2 separate regions of the Homo sapiens genome follow, and region 1 is linked to region 2. Evidence: promoter capture Hi-C in 16 types of primary human blood cells and fetal thymus (Javierre and others, 2016). All regions are on one chromosome and are shown on one strand. Each heading gives the region's core, a stretch centred on a gene start or on the middle of the fragment in contact. The rest is flanking DNA. Distances are from core to core; before and after follow the strand shown. Region 1 holds the start of VPS45 (vacuolar protein sorting 45 homolog). Region 2 holds the start of MINDY1 (MINDY lysine 48 deubiquitinase 1).

Region 1 (3,809 bases), core at 409-2,908, 940 kb after region 2:
AAGGCTTTTTAAAGGAGAGACTCAAGCTAGATTTAGAAGATGATGGATAAAAAGTGACAAATGGCCAAAGAACTTTTAATCAGTGCAAGAAAAAAAAAACAAGGAACAGGAATGAGCATGTAGAATTGCTCATTCCAACAGTAGCCTAGCTGGCTATAGAGGAGAAGCAGACCTAGGACATAGGAAGGCTGGATACACATGGGCAGATCAAACCAACAAAGTAGGGCTTTAATGGCTGGGCTAAATATAGATTTAATCATGGAAGTAACATCAAGCCACCACAGGTTCCTGAGCATAAATGTGAATAAAGTGGCAAAGATTCAAGACACTCATAGCTGTATATAAAATTAAGTGTTGATGGTGTTCAATGTGACAGATACGGAGGTTAATCCAGGAATAAAGTAATGTGGGTCTCCGTTAAGAGTAGTTCATTAGTGGCAATGGGAATGGCTGTGAACCTAAAAAACATCTTGAAGGAAGAACTGGCTGTAAGGGGTCAACTGAAATATGGAAACAAAACAAGAAAAATGAAGGTTATAACACTGATGAACCAGGATAATTATGATGCCACAAATTATGATAATACAAATTTATTTTGCCTTCTTAATGCTTTCAGATCAGAGTGTTCTGCATCTGCCTGGGCAGATGGAAGCTCAGTTTATGCAGTACCTTTGTAGGTCGAAGAAAACAAATTGCCTTCAGGTGTTTCATGATCTCTCGATTTTGAGAATCAATGCGTTCAAAGAGGTACACTTCCTTCTGTAGAATCTCCGATTGTGTGTATACCATACTCACTATGCCAGTCTGTAAAAACAAAAGATTAACTAAAAGTATGCTAGTCTAGAATAATAAAAACAAGTAGCACATCTAACCCTCTTTTTTCATTAATACTTAGCTGGATAACTTAAATAGTAATATACGGAAAACATTTACTGAACATCCAAACAGGTAGGTAACATACGAGAATGAAAAATACGCTCTATCCTTTCAGCTGAAGCTTCAAGATTAAAAACAAAAAACATGGTCTCTTTGAACAGGAACAATCCATAAGTTTCCAAAAATATTTTTTTCTATCACCTTAAAGAGTTTTGTTTTCTGGTCTGTGGCCAACAAATAATCTGTCATTTCAGCTTGAGCTCCAACAGCTTTACTTTAAAAACACAATGTTGAGTGGAAACAGTAGGCCCATCCCAAAGCCTTCCAAGTGCTCTGACATATTAATGATTTCTTGGCGGGGACATTTAGAAAAGGATTTCTGATTCCAATAAATTGTTCCGGGTAGAAGTAGTCTCTAGGCAGTGGCTGGAGCCATGTAGACTGAAAACCCACCGGGCAAGCTTTATATAAACAACTTTTCAATTCCACACAAACCGACCCTCATTTTCGTATGTTTAATTAAATGCTAAGTCCTACAGTGGAATGGGACGAGCAATTGTAAGGTTGAGAGGGTTCCTTCACAAATGCTGAGCAAAAGCAAACTCACCGTCTCTTTATCCATGAGAAGTACTTTCATACCAGGCCCGCTGTCCTCTATCATTTTGGAAATGTACTGCTTCACAGCAAAAACCACGTTCATGGCGGCGAATTGACAAGTACCCTACAGCCCTTCCCGCCCCCTTTTCTGGCTAAATTAACCCCCAGTCTGTTGGCCGGGTCTCAGCTGCTTCCTCCCAGCCGGGATTCGGCTTCCGGGAGTCCGGGCAGCCACGGTGCTGGGAGTTGTAGTTCCGCTGGAGTGTACAGGGGACCAAGCCTACCCCGGGGATGGAAAAATCCGGCTGAGACGGCCTGGGCCGCTGCCACGCGCGGGCGTTATTCTCCACCCACCTGCGGCCTGAAGATGCCTGAGGCCCGGACTCTCAGACCCCTATTGCCCTTTGGTGCTGGAGGCCCAGCGGCAGCCTGAAGCCCAAGAGAGTGGAGCCTCGCGAAATGAGGAACCTGGCACAAGGTTTGCTTGGAAGCAGGAACGACGGAGTGTGGCTACGTGCCCTATTTGCCATTAACGCTTTCTTGCATGGCAGTGAGAGATGAGGGCAAGGGAGGTGGCATAATGCTCCCGGCCGCTTGGGACTCGGAGAGACGGCATTTAATAAATCACACGCGGTATTTGCGAAACAGTGGTCGAGATTCGTCTTCCCGGGTTCATTGCGTCATTAATAGGCGGGAACAGTGCCCCTGTGTTGAGGCTGCAGAGGCCCTAATTGGTTTTCCCAAGACAGAGGGGCATATGAGATTGAACAAATATTTGTTGAATGAATGAACAAAGGGAACGCCTTTTAGGGATGTTTCTGGGGGAAAGGCCTGAGGTTCTCCAGGAGGGTCTGCAGCTAGGGTCGGCCGTGGGGGCTCGCAGCCCGCGGGACCACCGGACCTGCAAGCGTCCCCCTGCCCCGCCCCCGCCTCGGCGCTCTGAGCAATTGGACTCTGCCAGCTCTAACTCCGGCGGGACTCTGAAACTCAGGCAAGAGCCGAGGTGACTGGGTCCTTTGAAATGGGTAGGGGACACGTATCCGGTAGAACTAAAACTAGCGTGGGGATTTGAAGCCAAAACTCTCAAGTTTTTACTGAATCTTAAAACCATCAACTTCCAAATGTCTGCATTTGTCTTTACACCACACAGGTCTCCCCTCTATCATGGCATTTGTCGAAAAGGAGGGTAGATGTTTGTTTTTCGCACCTTTACTTTGGGGAATTGTAAAATCAGGAAGATAATAAGAAACAATTGTTAGAAATCAGTAACTAAAAATGCTTATGAATATTTCCACCAAAATAATGACCAGTGTTTGTGAGGTCAATAGATTCAGGATTACCAAATAAATTCTTTCATTATATTTTAAGAAGTACACAGTTAAAATAGACCAATAGCACTTTAACATTAATCAGCTTAAGATTATGCAATATTATATATAATTCTCAAATCCCTTAAGGGAGATCAGAAACTACTGAAATATAAGAGATTTTTGTCACCTCTGAAATTGTGAAGAATATGTTTTTTTTCTTTCAGCTTTTCTACCAAGTAAATAAAGCTTCCCTTTAGGCATTTTACTAATTTTTAGATGTGTTTTGAAAGAAAAGTCTTAAGTTATATATTAAAGTGAAAATGTGAATCTTTAAATGGATACAAGAAATGTTATATGAACATTCCATTCTTATCAATTTAAATGTTCGTATCTTACAGAAAACATGGAAACAACGCTAATGAAAATCCTGTAAATCCTGTAAATTACTGATATTTGAAAATTCACTGCCAATCTCCTATGTCACTTGGTTTTTATTTTTCTTACCTATAATTTAGATTGCAGTATAGAAGATTTTTCCCCATTTTCTGTGCTTTTTTAAGAAAGAAGGAGATAAAGACTTGTCTATGAAATTCGTGCCTTTTTAAACAATAGTCAGTCTGTAAGCAATAGATGGAAAGAATCTTTATCCTTTTGATGATTTATACTTGGGCACATAACTTTTTGAGGGACGAGGAAAATACCTACTTGACACTTACTAACTCATTCCATTTCACATAAAATTTCATTGATGTCAGTGGCAGTGATATTTTATACATTGAGCGATAAGATATGGAACATAAACATTTTGAACAAAATAATTATTACATATTTAAAGGGTGCTGTGATGGTCCTGAAGTTAGACAGCATCCTTCCTTCCTGAAGAAAACCACACAAGCCATTTTAAATGTCTCCAAATTAAGAACTTCTTTTGTATCCCCATACCTCTAAAAATAGAACTGAAACCAATGATAAAATCCAAGCTCTTGCTTTGTGACTCATCCAGGATAAACCCAGTTACTTGTTTTG
Region 2 (4,403 bases), core at 1,594-4,093:
GTGCACAACCCAACCAGTTTCATTTCTAGACTTAAAAATGATACAGCAAGGACTTGGAAAGGAGCTCTCTGGAGGGCTCCAGAGGGAAAAGAGCTGGGTTTGTTTGTTTGTTTTTAACATTAATTGAGTAATACATGCAAATATCGTGCTCTTTGCTCCTGCTTCTGTGGATCCAGAGCAAAGGACTGCCATACCCAGAGAGAGAGCCCAGATCCAACAAGCTGCTTCTGTCCAGCCCTTCTCCTCCCTACTTAGCAAGGGCACTTGCTCTTCCCTATTCTCACCAGAGAGGCACAAGCGCTCCGTCCCTTCTAGAGGCAGGCAGAGGGAAGAGAAAGGGTCTGTTGTTTTTCTCTCCTGTTTCTCGCTCCCTCTCTGCTGATCACAAAGCTGCTGACCGGGTCAGAAAGTCCTGATGGAAATCCACCAGCGCTGGGCAGGCCCCTCCTCCTCCAGGGAGCTTGTCCTTGCCTAATTTTTCTTCGTCCTGATGAGAACAAAAAAGAGAGAGAGAAGAAAAGAAAAACCACAAACTTCCTTTGAAAACCAGCTTGTAGTCAGGGCCCGGAGCGCATGCCATAGACTCGGCGACTCAGGAATCCTGAAGACTCTCTGAGCGACCTGGAGCACCTTGGCTGTGTCCCTGCCTGCCTTCACCCTCCTCCAGTGCCCCCAGTACTGGGCGTGAGTCCGGAAGTGGCCACAACCCAGCCTGGACCGTCGCTTATAAAGCTGTGTAAACCTGTATAAGCTCAGGCGTTGACAGCTGGAAGGCAGCTGGCACTGGCAGCCCCCTTCATTGCACCTATCTCCCCCATCTCATTGCCACGGCTGAACCCTCCTTCTCAATCTTGGAACAGCACCCCCTTCTTTAAGGTAAAAACTTTATTTTAATCATCTTCTTCACCTCTTCTCCCACCCTTCTCTATTTCCTCTCCAGCTTTGGGGAGCTGACACCTGCTGTCCTTCCACCTTTGGTCTGCAAGTCTGGATTGCTTAGAGGAGCTAAGTCAGGAGAGACATGTAAAGGGGATGCTGCTTGGTCCTCCTCCTTTTAATGAAAGCACGAAACCTTCCCCCTCTCCTTGTGAGCAAGTATACAGGGCACTGTGGCCATGGTTGACATATTCTGAGATGAAAATCTAAACTATTGATTGCACAAAGACATAGGTCAGACTAAGAAGGAGATTGGTGTGAGACAGTAAGGGAACTGTTCCTACAGAGAAGGAGTGTCTTCTTGAAGCTACATACCTGTTTTACGTGCTTCTTCCAACTTTCGGCTCTCTACTGCCATTGATTAGGGAGGAGCCAGGATTATTTTAACTCCCTCACTCACCACCATAATTCCAGCTGGAGAGAAAGTGTAGGATTTGACGAGCTAAGAAAGAGGAGGAAAAGAATGAAACTTTGATTTATCTGACTATCCTCTCCCTCATTCTTTCCTACTCTGAAATACTCCATGCCCTCCCCAGCAGGATTGGACGTTGTAGAGTAGAAAGCCTCCATTACATTTCCTGCCCCTGCCTCTTAAGACTTAGCCCATTTAGCTCTGCCCAGTTCCTCTGAGACCCCACTCCCTCAGGTGTCCACTCCTGGGTTCCTTTGGCTCACCTCTCCAGCCAGCTAGCTGCCCAACCCCCACTTCATCATTGATCATTTCTGGCACTGGAGAGAAAATATAAAAAATAAGGCCTGCTTTTCTTTTTTTTTTTTCTTTTTTTCTTTTTTTTTTTGGAGGCAAGAGTCTCACTCTTGTCACCCAGGCTGGAGTGCAGAGGCACAATCTTGGCTTACTGCAACCTCCACCTCCGGGGTTCAAGCAATTCTCCTGCCTCAGCCTCCTGAGTAGCTGGGATTACAGGTGCCCGCCACCGTGCCCGGCTAATTTTTGTATTTTTAGTAGAGATGGGGTTTCGCCATGTTAGCCAGGCCGATCTTGAGCTCCTGACCTCAGGTGATCCGCCCGCCTCGGCCTCTCAAAGTGCTGGGATACAGGTGTGAGGCACTGTGCCCGGCCAAGGCCTGCTTTTCTTCAAGCTTTTTCACTTTTCCAGGCTCTGGCATCTGCTTTGAGGTTCACCCTAAGTGTCATTTAAGGGGAGAAGGAAAGGAGAGAGAGAAAGAGAGAGAAAAAAAAGCATAAGGCCTGCAGGCAATTTTTGCTACTCTGATTCTAAATTAACAACACGTAAATGATATGCAGCTAGCATAAACATATGTGAATCAAGAGGATAATCAATTTGAGTGACTAGGCTTATTTTGTTTCAGTAACTTTAATGTTCCTCAACCTCATCTCCCAGGCCTTCCCCTAGCCCCAAATTCCTGTAGGTTTACAAGAAGGAAGCAGTCTCAGGCTGGGAGGAGGGTGGAGAAAAGACAAGATTTCTAACTAGTTTAATTTATTTTATTTTATTTTATTTTATTTTATTTTATTTTATTTTATTTTATTTTATTTTTGAGATGGAGTTTCGCTCTGTCACCCAGGCTGTAGTGCAGTGTCACCATCTCAGCTCACTGCAACCCCCTGCCTCCCAGGTTCAAGCAATTCTCCCACCTCAGCCTCCCGAGCAGCTGTGACTACAGGCACGTGCCAACACACCTGGCTAATTTTTGTACTTTCAATACAGACAGCGTTTTGCCATGTTAGCCAGGATGGTCTCGATCTCCTGACCTCAAGTAATCTGCCCGCCTCAGCCTCTCAAAGTGCTGGGATTACAGGCGTGAGCCACCGCGCCTGGCCCCTAACTAGTTTAATTTCTCCCTGTTTCTCTCCCTGATAAAGAGTGGGAGGGGAGCAAGGAGATTGAAGGGAGATGTTTTCCAAAGGGCAGGATTTGTGGTTTTTTATTATTTATACCCACAGTATTAGTTAAATGTCTATCTGTGCTTGCCTCAATGTGCCTCCAGTGCTGATAGAGAACAGGTTAAACAGGTCCGGTGTTCACATCTAAAATGACCTGGAGAGGACTGGGCACGGTGGCTCATGCCTGTAATCCCAGCACTTTGGGAGGCCAAGGTGGGAGGATCACCTGAGGTCGGAAGTTCAAGACCAGCCTGACCAACATGGAGAAACTCCATCTCTACTAAAAAATACAAAATTAGCTGGGCATGGTGTTGCATGCCTGTAATCCCAGCTACTCGGGAGGCTGAGGCAGGAGAATCACTTGAACCCAGGAGGCAGAGGTTGCAGTGAGCCGAGGTCGCACCATTGCACTCCAACCTAGGCAACAAGAGCAAAACTCTGTCTCAAAAAAATAAAAATAAATAAATAAAACCACTTGGATGGGAATAGACATAAAACTTTAGGTAGGTGAATGTACAGGAAGTATTGTTATGTAAATTAATAATCAGCATTTTCATATTTCATAGAAATAGCAGGCAAGAGAGTACCTCTGGGTTTAGGTAGTTTCTGGGGAAAAAAAATGAACTGAGGAAAAGTTGCTGTCTCAATGCTAGCTGTCAAGAGATGCTTACTGGGTCCAGGCACCGTGGCTCATGCCTGTAATCCCAGTCCTTTGGCAGGCTGAGGAGGGCGGATTGCTTGGGCCCCCAGGAGTTAAGACCAGCCTAGGCAACAAAGCAAGACCCTGTCTCAGTTTAATTAAAAGAAATTTGATATCTTTATTAATTTTTTTTAAAGAGAAGCTTACTGGAAGAACTTGTGGGGAGTGCTTTTTGTGCCCCTAATCTGAAGTTATTTATCAAAACCAGTCTCTGATTCCAGCCCCCACCACCTACATTTCCCCTCCCAGCTTACAGGAAACCCCTCCCAAGGCCTTTATACTGTGGTTTGGGATTGTGTAAGGTTCAGTAGAGCCCTTTGAGGTGGAAGACTTCCCCTTCCTCACCAGCATTTCACCTTTAGGGGCATGAAACTGACTCTCTGTGCCTCCTCCATTCTTCACCCCAAGTACTATGTGACTTAATCTTTTTATCCTTGGGTGAGGCAGAGAGAAGGTATCCCTAAACATACAAGCACTGTGTATTCTTAGTATGTTGTGTGAAGGGGCAGGGTGTGGGGTAGGGCAGAGGAATTATCTCTGTCATGGCTATGAGGGGGTTACTGATGTGATGCCTATTAGAGTAAGCTAAAGATCATCATATTAATAACCATTAGCGTAGATTTAACATTTCTTTCTCCACCTCTTATCCTTCTTTCTCCTTTGTGCTCTCCCTTTCTCTCTGTCTTTCCTCCCTTCCCTGTCATGATCTGTTTCAGGGAAGCTGACTCCACCCATGTGTTCAATCCCACCAGTCTTCCCTCCCAAGTCTGGAAGCCCCACGACCTCTTGGTCTCATCTGGTCACAGCAAGTTAGAGGTGGAAAGAGCTCAGCACGGGGCCCTTCTGTTTACACATATACTGCCCATAGCCAGGAGTTACTGCACAAACACTAGCCAGCCT

The links. The method cuts DNA at HindIII sites, captures the fragments that hold promoters and counts their contacts. A CHiCAGO score of 5 or more calls a contact.
Region 1: the fragment with the promoter of VPS45 here is called in contact with a fragment that was not itself captured in region 2 in 1 of 17 cell types (fetal thymus); the score reaches 7.0 in fetal thymus.

What each region holds. Positions count from the first base shown.
Region 1 is chr1:150,065,625-150,069,433 of GRCh38, reverse strand. VPS45 (vacuolar protein sorting 45 homolog) reads right to left here and starts at 1,658. Exons shown (of 15, transcript NM_007259.5): 1 at 1,484-1,658; 2 at 670-804. The coding sequence starts at 1,576. It also overlaps a transcript of OTUD7B not described here. RefSeq lists an enhancer at 1,702-2,031 and a silencer at 2,242-2,481. The HindIII fragment of the contact is 1,692 bases long and covers 1,340-3,031 here.
Region 2 is chr1:151,002,785-151,007,187 of GRCh38, reverse strand. MINDY1 (MINDY lysine 48 deubiquitinase 1) reads left to right here and starts at 286. Exons shown (of 10, transcript NM_001376665.1): 1 at 286-876. RefSeq lists enhancers at 381-560, 791-1,050. The HindIII fragment of the contact is 1,608 bases long and covers 2,040-3,647 here.